Regions from separate parts of the Homo sapiens genome. Here all the other regions are linked to region 3. The links are contacts of gene promoters, found by promoter capture Hi-C in blood cells and fetal thymus (Javierre and others, 2016). All regions are on one chromosome and are shown on one strand. Each heading gives the region's core, a stretch centred on a gene start or on the middle of the fragment in contact. The rest is flanking DNA. Distances are from core to core; before and after follow the strand shown. Region 1 holds the start of ZNF17 (zinc finger protein 17). Region 2 holds the start of ZNF749 (zinc finger protein 749). Region 3 holds the start of ZNF235 (zinc finger protein 235).

Evidence for each region. Contacts are between HindIII fragments. The CHiCAGO score rates a contact against its expected background, and 5 or more counts as called.
Region 1: a contact is called between the fragment with the promoter of ZNF17 here and the fragment with the promoter of ZNF235 in region 3, in 2 of 17 cell types (total CD4 T cells and total CD8 T cells). The highest score is 10.5, in total CD4 T cells.
Region 2: the fragment with the promoter of ZNF749 here is called in contact with the fragment with the promoter of ZNF235 in region 3 in 5 of 17 cell types (non-activated CD4 T cells, total CD4 T cells, activated CD4 T cells and 2 more); the score reaches 27.2 in non-activated CD4 T cells.

The regions. Positions count from the first base shown.
Region 1 is chr19:57,409,513-57,412,954 of GRCh38, forward strand. ZNF17 (zinc finger protein 17) reads left to right here and starts at 1,649. Exons shown (of 4, transcript NM_001330617.2): 1 at 1,649-1,894. RefSeq lists enhancers at 1,653-1,762, 1,843-1,902 and a silencer at 2,146-2,348. The HindIII fragment of the contact is 5,033 bases long and covers 1-2,823 here.
Region 2 is chr19:57,433,246-57,436,683 of GRCh38, forward strand. ZNF749 (zinc finger protein 749) reads left to right here and starts at 2,080. Exons shown (of 3, transcript NM_001023561.4): 1 at 2,080-2,348. The coding sequence starts at 2,334. RefSeq lists enhancers at 1,665-1,964, 2,595-2,644. The HindIII fragment of the contact is 4,352 bases long and covers 1-3,438 here.
Region 3 is chr19:44,303,701-44,307,559 of GRCh38, forward strand. ZNF235 (zinc finger protein 235) reads right to left here and starts at 1,325. Exons shown (of 5, transcript NM_004234.4): 1 at 1,271-1,325. RefSeq lists enhancers at 1,108-1,661, 2,238-2,739, 2,740-3,239. The HindIII fragment of the contact is 5,796 bases long and covers 892-3,859 here.

The sequences.
Region 1 (3,442 bases), core at 399-2,898, about 13 Mb after region 3:
CCTTCAGTTGGGTGGTTTTTTCTTTTCCTTTCGTTTCCTTCTTTCTCTCTCCTTCCTTCCTTCTTTTTGTAATTTGATAAACCAAATTTCAAGACTTTGGCCAAAAAACAGTCTTCTCCTTTACTGAATATCTCAGTGCTCCATTTTATTTTTCCCTCACCAATTCTGCAGGAGAGATCACAAGACTATGTCCATATCTTTATTTGTGGGGGTATGATTTTCAGCTAACATAGCTGCTAAGTGATTTAATTTACAATTATAGTGGTAGAAAAATAGCTCTAACTTCTGAGGTTTTGTAATTTATTGTAAAAAGCGGAATACAGGACATTTAAAGTGACCTGACAAGGTCAATACAGGACTGAGGACTAATTCATTAAATACGTCTTACGTGTCTTAGAGGACCACAGACAGCTAGCAACCCTACTCCTAATGTGTCCCATGCACTTAGTATTGTACCTGGCATCGAATGAGTGTTCATCAAATATGTTAGAGTAATAAATACGACAGCACAGTTTCCCTATTCAGCTTTACTTTTCTGGTAACTCTTTTAATATATAGTCTTTACCTCTCCCTTCAAGCTGTTAATGCACAATGTTTTCAAGTTTGAAAAAGAATCAGATTTTGGACACCAAACTTGAGTGTGTCCAAGGTTCCAGGACAACCTTAGCTTTTTTCCTCCTATCACAAATATGTTTCTCTATAACTATTTTTGCCACTTTCTTTGGATATCTACATAATCGTCATTAATAGTTTCAGTAATAGCCATTTCACAAGAGTTATTCAGAGACAATTTCAACTCCCTGTGCAGACACTGTTGATACAATTTCAGGCGAAATGATAAATCACTTTCCACTAATGAGATGAGATCATGCATTCCCAAACCTTTATCTCAGGAGTAAGATGCTTTCTTTGCACAAGGGCTTTGACTGGTGGAAGGCCACACTATTCTGGCAGATAATGGTAGATAAGTCGCTTTTCCTTTTCAGTTAGGTTTCAGTCTCTTAAAATAAGTGGAAAATATCTCAGATATAAAGTAATAAGTATCATGTGAATAAAGTGTTGCTGGGTAGGCTGAAAGACAATAACTGATTATTCAGAAAGGAAAGATATTACTCCTCAAACTCCCCATCATGCCATGTCTGGGTCTTTTCAATGTGCCCAGCAGAGCACATTGAAGATCATAAAACAGTCTCCAGAGCTTCGTTCTGTGTGTATTTGGCAAGCACAAAAGAGCTGACCGCTATGCGTGGAAGACCAGTTCTTTATGGTTGGCCATGTTCCTTCGGATGTTCGTCTTTTGGGAACTTGCTGTGCTTTACAGAATCTGAAAGGACAGGTCTCTGAAACATTTCTCTGACTTGTTCTAGACTGCCTTCCGGGAAAATCTGGATGCTTGCCGTTTAAAAGCCAATGAAGCCCCTCCACGTCCTTGGAGCCCCGCAACTGCATTTCTCAAAGCCTCAGGAGGATCCTCCTGGCTTTCATCCTGAACGCGAGTTAACTTAAGTTCAGAAGCGGGGCAGGCAGTGGCCTGGGAACTACATTACCCAAAAGACACAGCGGCGGACACAAGCAGCGAGTGTAGCCAATGAAGGCCTAGCAGAGCGGCGTCTACGGGGGTTCGCAATGCGTGTGGGCGGGACTTCCTGCAACGCCTCCTGGGGTTGTCAATATGGCTGCGTTGGGATCTGTTCACCTTCAGGCTGAGTCGAGACTGAGGTGAAAAAGCGGAAAAACGCGAGAAAAGGTTTCCCCGTTGTACAGAGGCTAGAGTGAGGCTCGGTTGAATCGGTTGCAGGCGTTGGTGCCTCTGTCAGCGTCCAGGTCACTGCCGCTCCCGCCCCGCTCTTCCCTGGCTGTGCTGGCGGAGGCTGCGCCGATGAACCTGACTGAGGTGGGTGCCGCGTCCCAGGGCGCCCCGCCCGATCCCTCCTCCGAGTGCCGAAGCCCCGAGGAGGGGCCCTGCAGGTCAGGCCCCTGTGTCCCAAAGAGAGGAGCGTTCTTGTGTGGGGTACCGGTGTCCGCGGTGCTGTGAGGCGGGGGAGCTCCTGTCAGGGACCTGCACGTGCGAGGCTTAGAGGTGCTGCAGAGCGGGCGGCACTGGGGAGCCCGAGCGTCTTTGTCTCCACGGAGCTGAGGGTGAGGCGGAGTCTCGCCTGGGAGGGCAGCGGAGCTGCTGAAAGCCGTAGAAGGCTGTGCAGGAAGGGTTATGCCCAGAGGTAGACGTTTAAAGTTGGGAAAAACAGGATGTTAAACCAGGACAAGGGGACCGCTGAGGAGACCCCTTGAGTTATGGTAGGGATGGGCCAGAGGGGTTGCAGTAGAGGGGAAGTGTGATGAGATTCTGGATGGATCTCAGAGATAGAGTCGACAGGATTTCCTGCTGCATCAAATGTAGCAGTGAGGGTAGTGAAGGGTCTATTCCATGGATTTTGTTTTGGCCTGAAAATCTGAAAGAATGGAGTTGGAGAAGTCAGCTTAGGGAGCAGGTTTCAGAGAGGATTATGAGTTGCATTTTGGAGGGCTGAGTTTTGGAGGGCAGATCATGGGTGGGTCCATAAGCCTGACGCTACCTTTAGAAAGGCGCAGACCTGTCATAGGAGGGATTCTGGCTCATATCTGCAAAAACGGAGTTCTGAATGGGTTAAGGAACTGGCCTAGGCTGGAGACTGAGGTGTGAGGTGGTTTAGATTTCTGCACCTGCAGACCCAGCAGCCCCCCAGGCCCACTCTGTGGAACAATAGGAAGGTCATCCAGACTAGTGGGGACATTGGGTCCAGACGGGGGTAGGGCTTTCTCACATCTAGTCAAGGGCCTCCAGCAAGCTTCCAGCAACTGAATTTGTAGCAGGCAGGCCTGGTTGCTGATGGGACCAGTAACTGACCTGCTTGCTTATCCCCTCCCTGCAACTTATTTATTTATGAATGTGTAAAACATTTTTTTTTTTTTTGAGACAGAGTCTCGCTCCATCGCCCAGGTTGGAGTGCAGTGGCGCGATCTCGGCTCACTGCAAGCTCCGCCTCCCGAGTTCAAGCAATTCTCCTGCCTCAGCCTCCCGAGTAGCTGGGACTACAAGTGCCCGCCACCACGCCAGGCTAATTTTTTGCATTTTTAGTAGAGACGGGGTTTCACCGTGTTAGCTAGTATGGTCTCTATCTCCTGACCTCATGATCTGCACGCCTCAGCCTCCCAAAGTGCTGGGATTACAGGCATGAGCCACCGCGCCCGGCCGAATGTATAAAACATTTATTTAACCACTAATGAACCAGTATCCTTCTAAATATGTACACATAGGTCGGCAGTTAGAAATGAATGTAACCAATAGTTAAATTTATTCACTTAATAATTGTTGAATGTTGATTTTTCTTTTTTCTTTTTTTTTTTGAGACGGAGTCTCGCTCTGTCGCCAGGCTGGAGTGCAGTGGCGTGGTCTCGGCTCACT
Region 2 (3,438 bases), core at 830-3,329, about 13 Mb after region 3:
AATTAGAAAGCTGTCAGTTCTTAGTCATGTCTTAGCCATTTTAAGCGAGTTGTTATGTGGGATGTTGTCTGGCTTCCTGGCCTTGTTGCTAGACATAGTATTCTGACTTGGGAGTGGTTACTGTAGATACCACATTAGATTTCTGAATGGGTTGGTGTAGATTATGGGTCAGAGTCAATTTTTATATTTGGTGTAGCCGTTGTCCATTTGTATAGCAAATTTCTCACACCTAAATAAGGAACTATCCACGTTAGTGGGATTTCTTATTTTTAACTGGTTATGTTGAAAATTAGTTTAATATTCATTAATTTCCCACAACCCTTTCAAAGGTTTGTTTTTGCCAGACCTTCAGTTGGGCAGAGTTAATTTTTCCTTTTTTTTTTTTTTTTAAACTGGTTGGCAAACTAAATTGTAACGCTTTGGCCAAAAAATAGCCCTTTCCTTTTCTGAATATAAAGAGAATGGGTTTTAATTTTTGGTCTTTTCTTTGTTCTTCCTTCACTAATCCTGCAGAAGAGACCATAAGGCATTATCCAAATCTTCATTTGTTGGGGGCATGGTTTTCAGGTAGTATTGCCACCACCTGATGGCAATACTATTGCTACTCAATTTTTCTCTCACTGCTACTCAATTGCAGTGAGAGAAAAATAGCTCTAAATGCCGACTTTTTGTAGTGCATTGTAAAAAGCTGAATAAAGCCAGGGACGGTGTCCTGTACCTACAGTCCCAGCTGCTCTAGAGGCTGAGGTGGGAAGATAGCTTTAGCTCAGGAGCTGAGGCCTTATCATAAGGCCTTATAAGACTACCTGGAGGCTTCATCTGCATGATATAACCTTGGTCTTCACAACCCCTTGTCTTTTTTTGTTTTTGAGACGGAGTTTCGCTCTTGTTGCACGGGCTGGAGTACAATGGCGAGATCTCGGCTCACCGTAACCTCCGCCTCCCGGGTTCAAGCGATTCTCCTGCCTCAGCCTCCCGAGTAGCTGGCATTACAGGCATGTGCCACCATGCCCGTCTAATTTTGTATTTTTAGTAGAGATGGGGTTTCTACATGTTGGTCAGGCTGGTCTCGAACTCCCAACCTCAGGTGATCCGCCCACCTCGGCCTCCCAAAGTGCTGGGATTACAGGCGTGAGATACCACGCCCGGCCCACAACCCCTTAACCCAGACAACCATTTCTACTGATTCCAGGTCTTTAGATACAAACTCTTTCAACCAATTGCCAATCGGAAAATCTTTGAACCCACCTGACCTGGAAGCCCCGCCCCTCCCTTCCAGTTGCGCCTTTCCAGAGGAATCCAATGTACATTTTACATGTATTGATTGATGTCTTACGTCTTCCTAAATTGTTAAAACCAAGCTGTAGATGGGCCACCCTGGGCATATGTTCTTAGGATATCTTGGAGCCGTGTCATGGGCCATTAGTCACTCATATTTGTCTCAGAATAAATCTCTTCAACTATTTCACAAAGTTCCACCCTTTTCGTCGACAGAAAGATATTCCTCCTTCAACTCTCCATCACATCCTGTGTGGGTCTTTTCTTTCTTGTCCCAACAGAAGCACACTAACGATCAAAAAAAAGTCTCCAGAGCCTCAGTATGTGTGTACTTGACAAGCACAAAAGAGCTGACCGCTATGAATGGAGGACCAGTTCATTATGGTCAGCCATGTCGCTTCTGATGTTCTTCCTTTCGGGACTTGCTGTGCTTCAGAGAATCTGAAACGACAGGTCTCTGAAATATTTCTCAGACTTGTCCTAGACTGCTCTCCGGGAAAATCTGGTTACTTGCAGTTTAGGAGTCAGCAAAGCCCCTCCACGTCCTTAAGAGCCCCGGAACTGCATTTCTTAACGCTCCTCCAGGAGCCTCCAGCTTTTTTCCGTAAGGTCCGCGCGCCCAGCATTGTGAGGCGAGGCAGGCAGCAGCGTGGGAACTACATTACCCAGAAGACACTGCGGGCGACACAGGCAGCAACGTGAGAACTACATTACCCAGAAGACACTGCGGGGGCAGGGCAGCGAGTGTAGCCATTGGTCTAGCAGAGAGACGACTAATGAGGTCTCAATTGTGTGGGCGGGACTTCTGGCGGCGCCCTCATGGTTGCGTTAGCATGGCTACCTAGGGATCTGTTCACTGATTTAGAGGGTCCCAGAGCTCTGGGTCGGGACTGAGGTGAAAGAGCGGAAAAACGCGAGAAGCGGTGTTCCTTCTACACAGAGGCTAGAGTGCGGATCGGCTGAGTCGGCTGCAGGCGCCCCTGCCTCCGTCAGCGTCCAGGTGACCGCCGTTCCCGCCCCGCTCTTCCCTGGGTGGACTGGAGGAGGCCGCGCCGATGAACCTGACCGAGGTGCGTGCAGCGTCCCAGGCCGCCCCGCCCAACCCCTCCTCCCAGTGCTGAAGTCCCAAGGAGCCGCCCTGCAGGTTAGGCCCTTGTGTCTCTAAGAGAGGGGCGTTCTTGTGTGGGGTGCCCGGGACTGGGACTGCGGTGCGATGAGGCGGGGGAGCTCCCGTCGGAGACCGACACGTCTCTGGGGCTTGGAGGCACTGCAGAACGGGCGGCACTGGGGAGCCCGAGCGTCTTTGTCTCCAAGGAGCAGAGGTTGAGGCGGAGTCTCCCCTGGAAGGGCAGTGGAGCCGCAGAGAGCCATAGAGGGCTGTGCAGGGAGGACGAATGGGAGGGTCACGCCCAGAGTTAGAAGTTTAAAGTTGGGGAAAACAGGATGTTGAACGGGGGCAGGGGGACCGCTGAGGAGACCCCTTGAGTTATGGTAGGGCTGGGCCAGAGGGGTTGCAGTAGAGGGGAGATGTGATGAGACTCTGGATGGATCTCAGAGATAGGGTCAACAGGATTTCCTGCTGCATCAAACATAGCTGTGAGGGAAAGTCGGTAGTGAATGGTGTCTTCCATAGGTTTTGTTTTGGCCTGAAAAATCTGAAAGAATGGAATTAGAGATATCAGCTTAAGGAGCGGGTTTCAGACAGAAGATCCTGGGTTGGATTTTGGGCGACATCACATGGGTAGGTGGACGTAATTTCCAAAGGTGAGGGAAGGTAGCTGGCCTGGAGCTTTAAATGAGTTAGAAGTTGTGCACTTGAGAAGTTGGCCTGTGGATCAGATTGAGAAGGAAGAATCCTACATCGTTTTTTCATATGGGCTGAGGTAGGGGAGGGCTCAGATTTGGAGGAAAGACCATGGTAGGGAGGGCATCTCTGATACTCCCTGCAGAAGGGAGCAGATATGGGCTAAGAGTCTGGTCTGTTTCTGTTGAAAAAGAGGCCTGGATGGATAAGGAGTTGCCCTGGAATACAGAGACTGAGGCATGAGATAATTGTAGTCACTCCACCCTTCTAACTCAGCTGGCCCTGAGGGCCACTCTTTAGGGAACAAGATAAGGCCATGCAGCAACTGGGTCCAAAACTGGGCAGGGCTTTCTCAC
Region 3 (3,859 bases), core at 75-2,574:
TAGTTTCCAAGGAAATGAGACACAGACAGGCAGGGGAATGTAACAGAGCCAAAATGCCTGGCTTCAAATTTTGGCATTTCTACCTATTTTCAACTGATCAGCAGTATAAACCTTAAGCGAATTATTAATCTCTCTGTGCCTTAATTCAGTTACCTGTGAATGGGGACAATAATAATGCCTGTATTCTCTATTTCCTGCAGCTTCTGACAAGCAAGTGCTATTATGCTTCATAAAACTGCCCTTTTGAGTATGCTTTCTAGAAAATGAATCTTTTAAGAAACCCAGAACTCAAAAATAATTGCTCTGTCCTGTGAGTTACCATTACCCTCAGAAAAGTCTGTAACTGTGATTGGTTGTCTAACATAATTAGTTCCGTTGGTAATGATAGTTAAACTGCCACAGGTTTTTTTTTCCTCCAACAGATGTAATTACTTGCAAATGTTACTAAGCTGGAGGAGCCTCAAGAAAGTCTCTTTTTCCACATGCATGAAAGCAATGACTAATAAAAACCTAAAACTCTCTAAGAAATGGTGTTACACTTAAGTTAACCACACGGGATTATTGGTTATAACCACATTATACTGAACATTTATTAGGGCCTCAGGACACCTCTGGCACTCTGCAAATCCGTAATGACGATCGCTTATCTGAGATAAAACACACAGGACATTCCCCAGGCTCCGCTGGAACTAATTCCTGTCTCCTAAACAAGAGGCTAGAAAAGTCCAAGAATCCAGGAACGGCCCCACATCAGGCAAGGATTAGAGAAGGGACAGCGGCTCCGTAGCTGGATCTCCTAGACTCAGAGGAGTTTCCAAACAACAGGCGTCTTTTTCAGTATTATAACAGAATTAACGGTGGCATCCAACATTTTCCTATGCACTGGTTTTAAGCTTATTTCTATAAAACCTCATTTAATTCTCACAAGAACATCACTGGGAACGCACTAACCCTTTACAGGCACGAGGAAACTGAGACAAGGAGAGATTAAGTAACTTGCCCAATATTTTACTGCGAGGAGCAGGCAGGACTGGCTGGTAGGTGCGTGAGGACGGCTAGGGCAGCAGACCCTCAACCTCGAAGGACGACGCGAGCCCGCCTCCCACGCAAGAGGTTCTGCCGAGGGGACGCAAACTCCCGCAGCCTCCCAACCCCGCCCTCCAGCGCTGGCCGCGGCTTCTCTTCCCCAAGCCAAGGACGGGTTCATTGCTGGCCCCACGCCTAGGCAAAGAGGGCTCGGAGAAGTCTTGGAGACCCGGAGCTGACTCACCTCCCTGGGAGATATCTCAGATCCGACCTCGCCTTCCTGGAGCGGAAGTGCCTCCGAGTGCCCACGGTTCGTGGACTCCACTTCCCAGAATTCCTAAGCGGAAGCGTCTCAGAGTTCTCTCACTCCTGGACTACAGTTCCCAGAATGCTCCAAGGGCAGCGCTTCCCACCAGCTGGGCTTTGTTTTGACTCAAGCCGGTTGGGTTTGAGCCACTTCTCTGGTGCTACTACTGTGAGATTCGTTTTTGTTTTATTCATTTTTAAAAGCTCATGAGAAAATAATTGTAAAATTTTTAAAGTGATGACATATAAAAATGAAAAGTGCAGCTTGTATTATTAAAATAAGTTAGAAACCAAAATTTTTCGCAGAAGCAGAGGGTAGGCTAAAATGGGAAGCGTAAAAGTGACTTAGGCTGAGCTCCGATGGACGCTGAACGTTAAGGAACACCAGATCTCAAACTTGTGTCAAATGCCGGCTCCCCAAATATCATCAACTCAACCTGTTGATAAGACAAAAAACAGAATTTATTGTTGATTGCAGTAATGGAGAACAACACTTCGACGGAGCGTTGGCACCTTCACAGAGCAAAGTGTCAAGGCAAGGTTGGAACTGATTGAGAACTGGATGTTTAAGGCGGGTCTTTCAATGCAAGGGATTTTATTAGTATTGCATAATGATCATGATACTACAGTCCAGGATTGGTGGATATAGCAAGGATTTTTGAAGCAAAGAATCTTAAATTGCAATCTATTGACACTTTCTTTGGAAGAGATTGAAAATTTGATGGGTCTCTGTGGAAGTTCCCATAATGAACAATTAAACAGTTTGCTTGGGCAGGAATCTCCTGGAATAAAGGCCTGCTGATGAAGACAGCTGAACAATCATGTTAGTGCCGAAAGTAAATTGTGATGAAACGGGAAAAGTTCACTTCTCCCTCTCCCAGGGCATGTGATGGGGTGTGGCTCGCTTCTTCGTGCCCAGCCGCTCAAACCTCTAGGGGAGCATGCACACGGGCAGGTTGTAGGGCTCCAACCCCACGGCAGTGTCTAGGGGTGAATGTTTACAGCTCCTGAAGCCCCAGTGGGCGTGTGTTATAGGGTGCTTTTTTAGTTCAGCCATCTGTAGGAGGCTTGTGTTAGCTCAATTAGACCCCTGACTTATCGCAAGCAAGAGAGGGCTTTCTGTATCCCAGAGGTTCTTGCCTTGGTGTACCAGAAGAATCGCATCACACATAGGCTTGGAGAAAGAGTGCAAGGATTGGAGAAACCTTGGAGAACGATTTGTAAGTAGCTCTCAGCAGAAGGGGGAGCCAGAAGGGAGATGGTTTTCGCCTGGAGTCAGCCTCTCAGCGGCCTGGGCGCTCCTCCGACTACCCAGGCCAAACTGCGTTATTCCACCGGTTAATGGCCTGCTGGCCTGCCGGTCTCTTCAGTGTGCTCTTTTGCCGACCCGCTCCCCTCGACAGCCTCTCGACAGCCAGCTGTTTGTGTGTCCGCCAATGCTCTCCTCTCAACGTCCAGCAGCTTGTGTCTCTGCCTGCTAGGGTATCAGGGTTTTTATAGGCACAGGATGGGGGCGTGGTGGGCCAGGGTGGTCTTGGGAAATGCAATATTTGGGCACAAAGGCAGGAATGCCTGTCCTCACCTAGGTCCGTGGCCACAGGCCTGGGGGTAGAGCCCTAGTCAGGGACCACACCCTTCTCCCCTCCAGCACTTCCATTCCCCTCTTCCGTATCAGTGAGGGGCAGGGAAAGAGGATGGAGTTTTAGTCCTTAGTGTCCAAGTTGTGTATATTTAGGGGTCGGTGACAAGGAGAGAAGGGAGTAAAGTGTTTGACTCTTTTCCCTCCATTATTCCTCAAGGTACCTAAGGGCTCATGACAGTGTTTTGTTTAATGTGCTATTCGTTCTAATATACTAAGAACCCACAAAAAGGCAATATAAATATTAAGCCAGAGAAATATCTTGAACTTCATTTATTTTAAATGTGTACTGTTATGGCAAACAAAAGCAGCTCCATTGGCCGGGAATCTAAGACAACGTTGTAATATGGGCATGTGTAAAATCTTGAATTGTTTTCTAATTTGTGTTCGGCTTCAAATATTTCATTACATACTTTGATCCTGATCCTGACATAAATGAAATTAAGTGTCTTATGGTTGAATAAACTAGATGAAACAAAGAAGCCGTGATTTTTCTCCTAGGCAGGTATAAATATACAGGTGACCATTGAAAAACACAAGGGTTAGGGGAGCTGACCCCTGGGCAGTTGAAAAATCTACCTGTAAGTTTTGACTCCCCCAAAACTTAACTTACTTAACTACCAATAACCTGTTGACCAGAAGCCTTACCAATAACATAAACAATTAACATATATATGTGTATATATATATATGTTTTTTGTTTTGTTTTTTGAGACAGAGTCTTGCTCTTGTTGCACAGGCTGGAGTGTAATGGCACCTCCCGGGTTCAAGCAATTCTCCTGCCTCAGCCTCCCGAGTAGCTGGGATTACAGGCATAAACTATCATGCTCAGCTAATTTTGTATTTTTTTTTTTTTTTTAGAGACGGGGTTTCTCCATGTTGGTCAGG